2 separate regions of the Homo sapiens genome follow, and region 2 is linked to region 1. Evidence: promoter capture Hi-C in 16 types of primary human blood cells and fetal thymus (Javierre and others, 2016). All regions are on one chromosome and are shown on one strand. Each heading gives the region's core, a stretch centred on a gene start or on the middle of the fragment in contact. The rest is flanking DNA. Distances are from core to core; before and after follow the strand shown.

What was found. Contacts are between HindIII fragments. The CHiCAGO score rates a contact against its expected background, and 5 or more counts as called.
Region 2: a fragment that was not itself captured here is called in contact with the fragment with the promoter of MAPKAPK2 in region 1 in 8 of 17 cell types (M2 macrophages, activated CD4 T cells, total CD4 T cells and 5 more); the score reaches 6.6 in M2 macrophages.

The regions. Positions count from the first base shown.
Region 1 is chr1:206,680,881-206,688,621 of GRCh38, reverse strand. It overlaps MAPKAPK2 (MAPK activated protein kinase 2), which reads right to left and starts at 3,717. Exons shown (of 10, transcript NM_032960.4): 1 at 3,114-3,717. The coding sequence starts at 3,392. It overlaps LOC124904495 (a long non-coding RNA gene), which reads left to right and starts at 3,816. Exons shown (of 3, transcript XR_007066833.1): 1 at 3,816-4,881; 2 at 5,079-5,271; 3 at 5,512-6,482. LOC124904496 (a long non-coding RNA gene) reads right to left here. Exons shown (of 3, transcript XR_007066834.1): 2 at 7,032-7,447; 3 at 5,634-5,715. RefSeq lists enhancers at 1-550, 551-1,112 and silencers at 2,452-2,541, 2,952-3,041, 3,052-3,101, 3,562-3,741. The HindIII fragment of the contact is 16,303 bases long and covers 1-7,741 here.
Region 2 is chr1:207,012,742-207,020,482 of GRCh38, reverse strand. C1orf116 (chromosome 1 open reading frame 116) reads left to right here. Exons shown (of 4, transcript NM_023938.6): 4 at 1-1,961. Among named protein-coding and RNA genes, the nearest start is that of C1orf116, 16 kb to the left of the region's middle. RefSeq lists an enhancer at 1-936. The HindIII fragment of the contact is 3,148 bases long and covers 2,284-5,431 here.

The DNA of each region.
Region 1 (7,741 bases), core at 2,468-4,967:
TGTTCTTGTACAAAAAATAGTAAGTAAGGTGCCTATCAAATACTCTCTTAAAAGGGGGAGGGAGTGGTTAAAAAAATGCATGAAGCTACTGTTGAAGTTCCCCTCCAACTTTGGGGACTGTTCTCAGGAGCAGCAAATACCCATCCAGCCCCCTTCGCTGACCTCCCCTCTTGTCAGTCAGGGCCTGAGGTGACAGAACAGCTCCTCAGGCTGGAAGCACCCTGGAGCAGCAGGTGGCCATGTGCCTGAGCCCGTGGCTCAGTTAGGAAGTAAGTGGGAAGAAGCCTGAGACTGGGAGTCAGGCAACCTGGGTTCCAATCCTGCCTCTGCCAAGTGAATGGCTATGGTACCTTGAACAAGTCACTCCCTCACTCTGGGCCTTGGTTTTCTCTTCTGCAAAATAAGGGGGCTGGACAAAATGACCTTTCAAGTCCCTTGCAACTCTGACTGGAAGCATGACTCAGAACTTAGCAAAAGCAGCCAGGAGAGATGGTGAGGTGAGGTCAAAGCACCCACCAAAAGCATTTAAATGGGAGCTCTCTGAGGTGGAGGGAGAGAAGCAGCAGGGTGAGCTGGGACTCTTTTTCAAATGCTGATTTCACTTAACAGGGCTAAGAGGTCACCGACTATAGGCAGAGAGGAGAGCATCTAAGCAGCTGCCAGCTCCCATCAACTCTCAGGGCTGCAACATAGCAGACTTCTGAACCCCAGCAGAGGCTGGGCTCCTGCCCTCCAGCTCTGCCCTAGCCCCCAGCATTGGCCTCGGCACACTGTAGAATAGAGGTCTCCTCCCCTTTTCTCAGGCACCTTCCCAAGGGGGTAATCCCTCTTGCCCCACTCCATCTTCCTCTCCTGCTTTATAATCACTAGACTTCTGGTTTTGAAAACCATTTCACTACTCAGCACCTGAGGTTAATCAAAATTCAAGATCTAGAAATCTCTTTGGTGTGTGTCTCTGGAACAGCGTTCTTTGAACCAGATTCCCCCCACAGCTGTAATTATGTCTCAGCCAATATTTGGATATGGAAGTGCTGTTAACACTGCTGTCAGTCTCCAAATGCCTTGTCTCTCCTTTCTTCCTCCATTATTAAGTTTTAACACAAAGACGTGTGTGGGAAATCCACAATTTAACAGTTGAGTCAACTTAAAAGATCTGGGAGCAGGCTGCCTGTCAAAACAGACTGACTTCACTCTTCGCCCACTTCTAACCTGAGAGGGATAAACTATGAGTGTTATTTAACACGCTGCTGGATTTTTCCTTCCAAAACTATTCAAAGTAGAAAAATATGTAAACCTCTCTCTCGTTAGTTACAAGAGAAATCTGAATTGCCACTCAAAAGCATTTTATAGGATGATTTTGTGCGTGTGTCTATTAAACAGAATACAGAGCAGAAGTTGGGAGCTTTTGTTCTGAAGTCTTTACATAATATTCCAAATATCCAAGAGAATGAACAGCCAGTGTCCCCAAACTACTAATGGGTGAAGGCAGATGGTGTCTCAGAGGGGACAGCAAACACTCCTGTAAAGACCGTCTGTCACTTCCTCAATGATACAGGTTAACTGTGGTCAAACTGTATTCACCCAACTCCAGTCCCCAAGGTCAGAGCCATGCTCAATCCAAACAACTCCTCCTCCTCCTTTCCCTTCAGTTATGAGTAGGGAAAGAGAAGTCTAAGACACAAATGTTGAAGTGTTGAAGATACTTATCCCCTCTCCAACAGTCAACACTAAACAACAACCGAGATCCCAGAGCAATAACTTACAGTAGAAAGCAAAGCACTGTAACAGGGTTGAGTATGAGAGCAGCAGGAAAACAATTCTAGAGGCCTTAAAATCTAGAAATGGAACATGCTTGCCCCGTACAACCCCGAAGTACTGGTGTTTCTTTTAAAACATCTGATCGTATATTCCAATAGTTCCACCCATACCACATTTCTGAGTTTTGTACTTGACAACTGAAATACAGCTCGCTGTGGGGGCTGAAGGGGAAGAGAAAAATATAACACAGGAAGTATTTTTCTCCTCCTCCAATCATTGAGACACCCCAGGGGAAACAGACCTGAGGCGTCACCTTTAGAGATTGGTTTGACCTGAAACCCCTGTGAGAGGAAAACCTTGTTGGTGACCCTGCAAGACCGGCTCACACTTCACTGCGGACCCACCCATCTCATGAGACCTCCCAGTCCATTGTGTTTAACTTCTGAAGTCGATATTCTCACTTGAATCCTTATTCTCCCCACCACCACACCCCTTAAAGAAAGAAAAGGGATGGGCTCCCCCGGCTCAAGGATAATGTTTCCTCAGACTGCCCATCACGGCGCGAGTCCAGGACAGCAAGTGGCCCTCTCTAGGAGGCGGAATCAGCACGGGCCCGGCCGCGGGTTACAGACTCTGTTCACAATGATCAGCCGGGCCGCGGACACCGCCGGCCTCTCCCCGGAGCCGCCCCGCGCGGGCGTGGGAGGGGGCCAGCTGAGGGGGCCAGCTCCGGGATCCAAATAATCCCGCCCCCGCAGCCGGGGGACACCCAGGACCCTCCCGCCGCACACCTCCTGCCCGGCGCGCCCCAAGGCGGCCCGGCTGCCCTCGCGAGGCTCGGGGAAGTGAAATCACACATTCCGGCTCCCAAATAAGGAGCGAGGCTAAATAAACCTCTGCGATCCGACTTCTCCAAACCAACCGACCAACCGGCTCAATGAGTAATGGGCCTTTTGTGCCCGCAGAGAGAGAAAAAGGAGGGAGGAGAGGACGGGGAACCACCAACCCCAAAATCACTTCCTTGAGATGGAGTGAAATTAGCAGAAGTCCCGAAGCCAACCGTTCTGACTCGGCTGGATCCCGCTCAAACCCCAAAATGGCAGGGTCCCCTGAGTCCCCAGGAGCGGGTCCCAGGGCTCCCGCCCGGGAGCGGCCGGAAGCGGTCAGGGAGGCGAGGGCGCTGGGACCCGCCGCCCGCGCCGCACTCGGCACCGCCGGCCCGGCCGCCCCGCCCCGCCCCGCCGCGGCCACCCCTCCGCCCCGCGCCGCGACCCAGGCCGGGACGGGCACCCGACGCCGTGGAGCTCCAGGGCCCGGGACCGGCCCCGCCTCCCCTCCCCGGGCCCCAGACCTACTTTGAGGGCGAATTTCTCCTGGGTCCTCTTGTTGAAGATCTGCAAAACTTTGCCGTTGATGCCCAGCCCCAGGACCTGGCTGGTGACCTTGTAGTCATCGATGATGGCGTTCTTCTTGATCTGCAGGCCGGACTTGACGTGGAACTGCGGGAACTGCTGCGGGGGCGGCGGCGGCGGCTGCGCCGGGGGGTGCGGCAGGGCAGGGGTGGGGGGCTGCGGCGGCGGGGCCGGGGCGGGGAACGGCACCGGCGGGCTCTGGCCCTGGGAGTTGGACAGCATGGTGCCCGGGGACGCCGGGGCACAGGCGGGGGTGCCCGCGGCCGCCCCCTCCTCCGGCTCCGGGCCCCCTCCCCGCCGCCCCCCGACGGGCTGCGAAGTTCGCTCCGGGCTGGAGCCGGCTTCCCCGACCCGGCCCGGCTCCAGGCTCGGCGGGTCGCGGGGCTCCGTGGGTCCCACCGCGCGCCGCTGGCTCCCACCGGCCCGGCGCCCTCCCTCCCTCCCCCCGGGGGCCTGGCGCTCTGGGGACCGCGGGGCGGCGGGGGCCCGGCCGGGGGGAAGCGGCCGCGCGACAATGTACCCAGCCCCGGGCCGGCGGCCGCGTCACAGCCTCGTCTGCGTCCGGGGCCGGTCCTTAAAGGGGAGGGGCGGGGGGCGGGGCCTGGGGAGGCGTGGCGTGGGGGGAGGGGCGGGCCTTAAAGGGGAGGACGCGCGGTGCCGGGAGCTGGGAGGATCGCGGAGTAGGCTGGGGGCTGCTGCCTCGCGGACAGTGAGAGGGGACAGGGAGAGGGGACGAAGAAATGCTAGTTCTTAACCAAGGCTATGCAAAGGGAGAGGGGAGGCGTGTCAAAGGAGCTGCATAATTCAGATGGAAAATCCACTCCTCTCCAATTGTCTGGGCTTCTTAGCGGCAGCGAATTGGGAGAGGGGTGTATTTCCAAGGACAGGGATGGCTTGTAGGTATCCAGCTAGATGAGACCTCGTGGGGGTGGGGGGGAGCTGGAATCACAGGGGTCATTCATCCCAGGAAAAGGTGTGAGCCAAAGGCGGGCGTATTAAATATTTCCCTAACTTCAACATTTTCCTCTGAGGTTTTTTGCATCTCTTTTCTCATTAATTTATTGTTTTTCAGTAAAGACGTATTATTGTGTAACCAGGAGCACTTTAGTAATTATACCTTTGAACATGTTTTCCTGTAAATAAACTAAAAAGGATACAGGGTGGGAAGAGGATGGGTTGAGATTGGGGCCACCTGAATTCCCGCCATCCTTTGCCACGGATTGGCTGTGTGAGGCTGAGCAAGCCTTGCACCTCTCTCTCCGTGGGAAGAACAGCGAGACCTTTTCAAAGGTTGTGGGCAGAGTCAAAGGAGATAATGAAACTGAAGGGGAGGCCCTGGGGAATGGCTTCTGATTTCCGATGTGGAAAAATTAATCCGTAAGAAGTGGGTTAGCCCCGTGTATCTCAGGAAAAGCCCAGGGATCTAGCTGGACCCTGCATAGAAGCTGCCAGGAGGCCTCCACACACATTCTGATGGGGTTCGAGATGACCAAGTACATTCCTGCCGACCTCCTCCCACCTCTGACTGGCAGAACATTTGAGAAATGGCAAGCAACCCAGACAGGTGAACACAAAACCTCAGCTTAAGTCTTGGTAAGGCCAGTTAGAGAATGAGGCTTGACCTATGGCCACACATGCCCCCTAATAGGTCCCCCAAAACTCCAGAGAGAAGACAACACCCCCAGAAGTGGCCACTGGGGATAGAACTTAGGTAGGTAAGGGACAAGTGCAAATGTCTCTTCCCTCATTCACCTTTCCCAGAAGATGCTTGTGGAGGCAGGAATGAGGGGGAGGAGTGAGGGGTGGGAGTTACCCTCCCAACACTGTCCTTTCCTGGGGCAGGTAGGGCTCTGTGGACCAAGGAGAGACATGTTTCCCCCGACACAAACATATGCTCTTCTCAAGCAGCATCTGCTTAGCTCCATGTACAAGGTGCCGTGCTCAGCCCTGCAGCGGTGGATGGTGTTATCTGATGGGGAAGAAGACAGATAACAGTGGCACAGAGAGGATGGCAGACACCTTCCTAGGAGCCCGAAGCACAGGGATTCTCTTCTGTCTACAGCAGCCAGCAGCTTCCTCCCGAGTCTACAGGATAGATACGGTTAGACAGCTCCCCAGATGCCCCTGACTCTTCAAAGACAAAGACACTATCTAAGGCCACGGGGATAGGAAAACATCTTCACTCCACTACTTCTATAGCACTGCTATCACCTCCCCGAAGCACACACAGGAGATGCCCAAGGACAAGAGGAACGCAGGGGTGGGAAGGTGGAAGGCTCCAACTGCTCAGGCTCTGGTGGGGCTGCTCTGGAGTCTGAGTTGGTCTTTTTTTTCTTTGCAGAGTCACTGGAAGCTCCCTATGGCTTGGTGTTGAGGTATCACCTGCTTTTCTCCACAAAGCTAGAAAGAGAATAACTTCCTTCTGCCTTTTCAGAGGCAGCAAGGCACAGTGGTAAGATGACAGGATCTAGAGACAAATGAGCTGAAGCCAAGACTGTCCTCCAACTGGGTTACCTTGAGCAAGACATGTAACATCTCTCAGCATCTGAAAAAGAAAAGAAAAAAACAACAAAATCTACTTTCGGGGCTGAGAGAGAATAAAATGAAATAGTAATTATGAGAACACATCCTAAAGCATAAACTATACATTATCATGAAATATTAAATATCACCATTATTTAGACATTGCTGGCTTGCTCCTCTGCTCTGTGCTCATGGCCTACGGATCTATTCCTGATATCAAAGCTGCTTTCCTACCTAGCTGGAGCTCCAGGGAGATGGTGAGGCCCAATGATCTAGGAATAACAGGACAACTGAATTCCCACCTGAGAGTCCTCCCGGAGCTGCAAGAGCCAAATAGGCCTAGGGGGCACACAGGGACTCTGAGGGTACATACATAGTGGATAGAGATTATATGAACTGCACACACAGCACCAGAAAACACACACATATATGAACACAACACATGAGCACAATGTGCCATGTAACAGAATAAACGCCTAGTGGATGAATAATTGAGGAGTAAGATGTGCTAAATGCAGAAGCACTGGCCAAGAGATCCTGAGTCTTAAGTTCCATTCTGATACTGACTCGCTATGTAACCTCATGAGAGCCCCTTGCTCTCTCAGTTCCTTCCTTCTCATCTGCAAAATAGTGACAATAACATCTGCCTTGCCTACTTTGTAGGGCTTGTGCAAGGATAAAATAAAAACTTTCCTACAGGAAGCAGTCCAAAGTCCTATTTGTGTAACACCAGGCTCTTAGCCATCTGTAATGAACTACTTAATAAACAGTTTTTATGGATGTGTAAAAGCGCTTTAAAACTTGAAAGTCTATGCAAATAGAAAGTACTATTTTTATCTACTATTAACATGCAAACACATATGCCATGCAATATAGTACACACAAAGACAATTTAAGGACCTCAGGTACATAGAAATGGATTAATTATAATCCTTGATTCATGACACACTCTCGTCATTGGATCATTGATCCATGCAGCTCCACTTTTATTGTTAGTTAATAATTATTTTTAATAATGCAGTAAGCACCTGTGAATCCACTACCCAAAATAAAAACTAGAACTTCGACAATAATTTACATCTAACTAGATGATTCCTCCACACACACTCCCCCAACCCCTCCATTTTCATGGCCCAAGACCCCATCATCCTGAGTCCTATGTTCACCTTTCCCTTGCTTTCCTTTTTATATAGTTTTGTTTCATGAAGGCATGTTCAAAGGTATCATAAAAGATGAAACTCAAATCACCTTAAAAGGGAGGTGGCCAAGGGTGATGTTAGCAGCAAGACCAGGTTAAAATAAGAAAATGCCTTGTCACAGTTTCAAAGTATTCCTCACCTTCTCATGATGATGGTGATGATGATGTTGATGATGATGATGATGATGACGATGACAATGTTTTTTGAGTGCTTCCTGAGTGCCCAACACTGTGCTCAACCCTCTACCTGCATTGTCTCATTTAAATCTCATGATGATCCGTGGCTGAGATTGCTAGTTGGGTGGGCTAACACCTTTTTTTCCTCTCTTTGATAGTAAAGAGCACCCCATATTTAGCTAAGCACAAGACTGCCTGGAATAAAAATTACATTTCCCACTTGAGCAGCCTCCACTATAGCCGGTTACATTCATAAGATTAAGTTATAACCAATGACTTGTAAGTGGAAGTGGTTTATGGAAAGAAGTATGTCCTTCTTCTTCTCCTTCTCTTTTTTCTTTCCTGCTGACTGGAATAAAAATTTCACAGCTGTAGCCATCTTGGATGGTGAATTGGAGGTTACAGGTTGAGGAAGACAGAACAAAAGGACAGAAAGAGTCTGTATACTGGTGAACCTGGATCCATCATATCAGCAATGAGCCACCTACCCAGACTTTTATATGAAAGAACAATAAATGGCCTTCTTGTTGAAGTGACTGATGGTCTAGGTTTTCTATCATTCACAGCCAAACCTTATCCTACTCTTACACAGCCCTATGAGGTCTGTACTGTTATCCTCACTTATCTGTTGTATAAACAAGAAAACTGAGTCCCAGAGAAATTAAATAACTTT
Region 2 (7,741 bases), core at 2,608-5,107, 330 kb before region 1:
AGTAAATCTTACTTATGGTTGTGAACTGCTTGGAGTCCAGGATGCCCAGATGTGAGGGGCAGATGAAGGGAATGTTGCTGGAAAGGTGCCTTTTAAGGCTGCTGAGAATTTCTGGACTGTGTCCTGATGGACGCAGCACCATCAAAGCCCAGAATTTCTGAAAACGGTGACAAGGTTAACATAAGGACAACAAATACTCCACCCTGTCATGGTATGTGAGGTGTGGGTGTGGCGGTTTCTGTGTACGTTTGCTCATACACGCACATCCAAAAGCCTGTGCCTCATTCCTGGCCATGGGTGAGGACTTGGTCTGTCACGGCTGATGAGGACTCCCACAACCGGCCAAGTTATGTCTTATTATACACCCCCAGAAAGAGAGAAAGCTGCCTTCTGGAGGACTGATTCCACATGCTATATTCAGCTGAGTTGATTTCTGTGTCTATTTCAACCCATAACCTGAAGAATGATCACCTTATTCCTTATTCATTAATTTTCTTGATTAATAGGGAAACTTGGGAATAGCTATAAAGTAAAACTTGGGTGGAACCTGGGGCCCTGGCATCACACAAGTGTGATTAGGATGGTCAAGGTCATCAGGAGTACAGCCTATTATATTCCCACATCCTGAGAAAGGTCATTTCTCCCACACACGACAAAGTCACAGACATCCTGCACCTGCCACTAGGCATCCTCATCCTACTGACATGCCCATTTCTCCAGTTTTCTTAATCTGAGACTCCCTTCCCTTGTTTTTTAAAGATACCGTGCTTCTCCACATCCTCATCCTTCAAGGAGCATATTTTGCTCTTAGGATGGTCTTTGGGATTCAAGAATAGAATAATAAATCCAAACTTGGTCATTCCCATTTTGAAGAGATGCAAGAGGGCCCAGTGAGGACATCCGCCTCCCTGAAAGTGGTGCTAGACAGAGCTGAGGTCATTGTATCTGTGTATCCACATAGGATTTCTCTTAATTCAGCTTGAATTGATGGGGAGGGAGGTAAGAGTAGGGTCAGAGTTACTCATCCCTTTTCAAAGAATTGTGGGTGGAAGTTTGTAAAGGCCATTCATTTGATTTTCAAAATCAAAGCGACAGCTCTACTTCCACTTGGCCTTAGATCTCTGCTATACCCTGCCATAGCCTTGATGCCACTGGGCACAAGCCACCTGCCAAATACAGGAGTGGCCTCTCCCAGCCTGGCATGATAGGGGGGTCTGTGCCCTCAGATGTGTTGACAGCTGCTCTTCTGAATTGCCACACCTGTGCTACACTTGGAATTCTGTGCTCTGACTCTGCAGGGTAGGACCACGTGCCATCTCACACAGAGGTCAACCGATGAGCCCACTCACTCGTACATGCCTTCTTCCACAGTGGGAAGCATGATCTGGCAGGGGCCGCCCTGTAGGCTGGGGATGGGCTGCTGTGTGAATGTTGACGTTCGTTTCATGGAGAAAGGGGAGGTGAAAGATTGAAGAGCAGGTTCCTGTCAATGTTCTGAGTTCGAGCTGGAGGTGTAGATTGAATAGTCTACATGGTCTGTGAGTGTGTGAGATGAACCCTTCCATCCTTTGACACCTGGTTGTATGTGTAGGCTAAGAAGGAAGGACCCTCCTGTCAGTGTGCAAAGCTGTAATCTCATGGACTAGAGGAGAGGGGGCCAAGGGGATGGACAGGAGAAGTCATGCAGAATCTAAGCAGGAATGCAGATAGAACACATCTAGGCTCTTTTCCCCAGGAGAGTGATGATGGAGCATATAGATCTGGCTCAAATTCAGCCTCCATCACTTACCAGTCAGGAACCCTGGCGATATCACTTTAACTTTCTGAACCTCAGAGTCTTCACCTATAAGACGGGGAAAATAATACCACCCTTTCAAGATTGTTGAGATAAATAAGTGATATAAAACATGTAAAGCTTAGTTCTGGCCACAGTGTAGCTACTCAATAAATGATAATACTACCTTCTGGGTCTTATTTTTTTCTTCTCAAAGGAGGTGACTGTAGGGAGGGTTGGATACCAAGGGCTCACCCAACTCACTTCTGAGAGAAAGATAGAGCCTGCTGCACACAAAACTTACGGCACAACCAGGCTTCGGCACAGCCTCCACGTGACTCAGCTTCACCCATGCCAGGCTTCCTGGAGTTTGAAAAGACAGCAATTGGCATGGGTGTAATGTGTGTGTTCCGGTGCAGCCTGAACCAGCTGTTTCCAGCTTTCATATCCTCAAATCCAACTTCTCCTGTATCATCAGTCTCTTACTGCCCATGACCATAGAGCAAGCTTCTTTTTGCTTCCTTTTACTTTCTTTTGCTGTGTGGTTCAGAGAACTATATGCTGTTCTACAGTTATTTATTTTTAAAATGAAGGTAAAAAAAATAAGCATATAACAGGAGGGAACTCCTCAGAAAGAAATAAAAGCTAGAAAAGGTTTTAAAATTCCTTTTTTTTATTTTAAATAGCACGTTCTTTTAAATTTGTTCATCTCTGGAATGAATCAGGCATTAGTTATCAGGAGGCAAGAAGTACATTGGATGAGGTCTCTAAATCTCTTCAGGTGTAGGGACCTGTGAATTGCTGGAGTCATGACCACTGTCACAATCATCACTGACTGTTAGCATACACATGTGGTAAAAACAGATTACACTCTAATTCCAGGCTGTCACTCTCTCTTACTCATTACCTAGTTGGATTGTTGTCCTTATCACCACTTGCCACGTATCCAGAATTCAAAATAATGTGAAACAGGCAGAGGCCTGGACCAGGTGAGATTTAGTGGGTCACTTCTTCTCACTCTCAACATGAGGGACTTGGTCTTTCTCCTAGATCCATGCTAGCCCTGAAATGTATGTTTCGGTAAATCCAAACAAGTTAGGAAGATAAACACCTGCCAAAAATAATCAAAATATAGTCTAAAATAAACTAAACCTCAGAGAACTTGAGAACGGAAAGGAAACTTTTAGGTTCTGTAATTCAACCTCCCACCTAAAGAGGAATTATCTCTATAGTTGGAGATACATATGTTTCTTCCTTTCTTTCTATCTACCTATCTATATCTATGGTCAGAAATAAACACACACACATATATATATATGTATATATATATACATGTAGGACCAGGAAGACGGGAGGTTCGGTTTGGGGCATACTGAGTTTGAGGTTGCTGTGGGACTTCTAAGCTGACATGGCCTCTGGCATGTCAACTTAGATAGCTATATCTATATCTATATCTATATCTATATCTATATCTATATCTACCTCCAACTATGTATATATAGAGAGAGATATGGTCAGAAATATAGTTGGATAGATGGATGGAGGCTTGATGGATGGATGGATGGATGAGTGGATAGATGGAAGAAGATAAGAAAGGAGGGAAGAGGAGGGGAGGGAAGAGAGATTGAGAACATACAGTGGCCAAGAGCATAGGCTCAGGAGCCAGGCTGCCAGGGTCTCTGCACTTCAGTTTCCTTTTCGGTGATTACCTTTTGCATCTTTTAACTTTCTTTGTTGTGTGGTTCAGGGAACTTTATGCCGCCCTACAGTTATTGTTTATCTTAAAAATGGAGAGAAAACGAACTTAGATTATAACAGGATGGAACCTCGTAAAGTAAGGCAATAATAATACTTACCCCTTGCAGTTTTTATGAAAATAGAATCAAATGAGATACTACATATAAAAAAAACCATAGCACACTGCTGAATAAATGGTGTCTATTCATATTATTATCATATAGACGTGTAATTCAGATGCCAACTGGGACCCCCATCAGGACTGGTTAATCTTGGCCTGCACCTAGATTCCTCAGAACTGAAACAGTCAAAGCCCTCCTCCAGTTTTAAGAGCCTCCTACAGTTCTGTCCTATCTGCATCTGTGTGTGCTGCTTCGGAGCCTCCCCACACCTGCCTCCTTCCCAATCCACACTCTGCCATCCCTAAGCCACTGTCTCTGTCTCCGCTCACTATTGGTCTAGACCCAAAGCCCAGGCCTTTCACTGATTCCCATGGGAAATCAGGTTTCGTTAAGCATTTTGTTATTTTCTGAGTTTTTTACTGAAGGTCAGTGTGGGGGATGCTGGGGGACCTATCACAACCACATGGCCTCACATCACCTCCCCTTCCACCCTTTCTTTTTCTTTTCCAACTTATAGCACAACCAGCAAATCCTTCTCACCTCCACCCGACACTTGAGGGCTCTTAGGATCTAAGCGTCAACCCCCAGAGACTTTTCAAAAAATTCCTCTTACGTGAAGAGAGTTGCTGCGCCAAACTCTGTACATCTCTACAGATGGAAAGATCATTCTGGTGGCTGGGTTGGGAGGGGACTGAGACAGGCTGGGATGGGTGTGAAGGGAACAGTTAGAAAGCTACTGCTGTAGTCTGGGAGGGAGGCAGTGTGGCACTGTGCAGCTGTGGTGGTGGCAGAAAGAAGAAAAGAAAGAAGGTTTGAAGATGTTCATCACTGACATGATTTGGTGGACCTATTACTGAGGGTGAGGAAGAGGGTGAGGTCATGAGTCATGTTTTGGTTTCATTCCTTCGTGATTGGATGGATACTAATACCACTCACTGAGACATAGACCATGGCGAGAGGCTCAGATCTGGGGGTCCCCTGCATGGGTCTGTGTTTGGACATGTTGAGAGTACAGCGCTCTCTACCTCCTGGGCCTTCATGCCTGAAAGTAGGACTGAGGCTACAGCACAAGTTGACTTGCAACATCAACACCTCCTCCAGCTCACACCAACCCTGCCACACTCTGCTTTAGTGGGTAGGCAGGACTCTGTGAAGGCCTCCTTTGGATTAGTTCCTGGCTCTGTTCAGTTGCTTGGATCTGAGGAAATATTTGTCATCTCCTCTTTGAGTGACTCTCCTGCCCCCGTCCTTTAGGCAGGGGCTCCTGAAGGATCTGTCTTCATGTTCTCTTATTAAAAGCATCAAGCTGGTCCCAGCTCTGAGACTCTACCTTGGCTGTTCCTTCTGCTGGAGTTCTCCGCTCCTCATCTTTACATAGCTAGTTCCTTCTCATCCTTTAAGTCTCAGATTAAATTTCAGATTTTCTGAGAAGCCTTTGCTGAATGCTCAAGACGTACATGAGATATATATTTATGGACGCATCAGGAAATCTTTTCAGTGCTGTGCAGATGGTCGTGACTCTTCTTATTCCTCCAACCTAGGGACGGAGACCCAGTGCAGCTCTGCATGGAGCTGCTGGCATGGTGCCTACTGTCTGCACAGTGAAAGGAGGCAGGCACAGGTTTGGGCTTTGGCTGCCCAGCAGCATGGGGACCACAGCTCTTGTCCAGGAACTGGGCATCCCAAGTAGGATCTTATCAAGACTGAAGATCCCCTCTTTTCATGTCCACTTCAACTAAACATTTATTGAGTCCCTCTTAGAACCAAGAATTCTCATGTTCAGTATCTCAAGTAAGCTTCATAACAGCCCCACACATTTCTATCTAACTCTCTGTCAATTAGGGAACCAAGACACAGACAGTTTACTCAACTTGCCCAAGTTCATAAGTTAGTAATTATTGGAGTCATGGATTTGAACTTGGGTTGACCTCTCAGCAAGGCCAGTGCTGTTTTGCTATTACAAATCTGCCATATAAAAACAATTTCACTGACACCGCAAACAACAAAGATAGAATTACCCATGTTTTACACATGAGGAACATGAGTTTCAGAGAGCTCATGGGGTTACAATAAGTAAAACTAGAGACAGAATCACGGCCCCTGGTTCAGCACACTCATTCGTTTCTCAGTTTCCTGAGTTCAAACCCTCTATCCAATATTAGGAAAACAAAGATAAATAAGACATACCCAGAAAATGAAGGAGCTCATAGTCTAGCAAGAGAGACAATAAGGTATGATTATATTCAAGATATAAAGATATAGAACCATAGAGGGTAGGGATCTAAGAGAGGAGGGGAAAGACCTGGAAAGAAGAGGTGTTCCAGACAGAGGAAACAGCATGTGCCAAGAAAGCACAAAGAAGTGTGGTGTATCTGGAGAACTGTCTGTGATGTACAGTGCCCAGGGATGAGGCCAGAGGAGCAGGCAACAGGAGACTGTGGAGGGCCTATGTGCCATGCAAAACAGTCTGATCTCTATCCTGTGAGCAGTGGAGAGTCAATGGGAGATTTAAAGCAGGGAAGTAGCAAGGTCAAAATTGCATTTTGTAAAGGCTCTGGCCAAGGCTGTGGATAATGGAACATACTGCAATGATACTACAACAAAGAAACGAGCTAGAAGCCTTTATCAGTCAAAGATGCTTTTGGCTGCAAGTAACAGAACCCTCTGTGGCTTAAATAAAAGGGGATTTATCTTTTTCTCCCATACTGGGAAATATGAGGGTAGGTGGCTATGGGCATTGTTCAGGGCAGAGGCACAGGAATTCTCTTTGCCTTCCTTCTGCAATTGCGAGATGGTGGCTCCAGTCATATTGCTGGCATTCAAAGGATTAAGAAGGGAAAAAATACTGGGAGCATCCATATCTGTCTTTTTAAATAAGAAAGCAAAGTCTTTCCCAGAAACTTCTGAACAGACTTTCTTTTCTGTCTCATTGACCAGAATTACGTCACAAGCCATCTCTGGCTGTAAGAAAGCCTGTCTTGTCCTCTCTAATAGAGGCCAGCCTGGGAGAAGGGGGTGGATGTGAGTCTTCTGCTAGCTAATCCACAATGCTCCCAACAGTCCAAGTGAGAATTTAAATAAATCAGTGAAGATGGAGGTGGTGCACAATTCTAAATGTGCCCACAAACCAACCAGCAGCTTAGTGACTGACTGGATGTAAAGACTAAAGGAGAAAGAGGAGCTCAAAATGATGCCCACATTGCTGGTCTGAACAAGTAGACAGAATTCATGAATGTGCTATAGGGGTAGGACCAGGAAGAAGGGAGGTTTGGTTTGGGGCATACGGAGTTTGAGGTTGCTGTGGGACTTCTAAGTTGACATGGCCCCTGGCAGGTAGACTGCGGGTCTGCAGTTCATGGGGGAGAAGCGATAACAGAGCCACTAAATGTAGGTGACAGTCGATCATGAGCATGGATAAGGCTGTCTAGGGAGGATGGGTAGAATAAGAAGAACAGAGCTCATGGATGGATCTCTGGGGCACACTGACATCTAAAGGGAGGTAAATAAAGAGAAGTCCAATGAGAAAACTGCACCCCCAATTTCTACTTGATCACTGTTCTGTCTAGTATCTCTCAAATTAAAAAATTAACAACAACAACAACAAAATTAAAACCTTCCTTAACCCCACATCTTCTAGAGCAGAGTTGTCCATCAGAAATTTCAGCAATGATAAAACTATGCTCTATCTGCTCTGCCCAATTGAGTAGCTGCTCCTCACATGTGGCCCTCAAGCACTTGATATTTGGCTAGTGTGACAAAGAACTAAATGTCTAATTTTATTTAATTTTAATTAACATAAACTTACATTTTTTAATTAGGCAAGTGGCTCTGGTGTTGGACAGCACTGCTCTAGCACCCTAGCCATCTCTCTGCTCCCCTCTGGAAATGTCCCTTGAAATAAACACAACCTCTCCTTTCTCACCTGAACCTCACTCCTCCTCCCGCTTCAACCAAGCATCTTTCCCCTCCATGCCCCCAAGACCATGTTGTCAGAGTTACCAATGACATCCATGTTGGCAGATCCAGTAGTCTGCTTTACTCGCATTTACTTTATTTCTCTGCACATTTGACACAATTGACGACTCCCTTCATTTTGAAACACTGACTC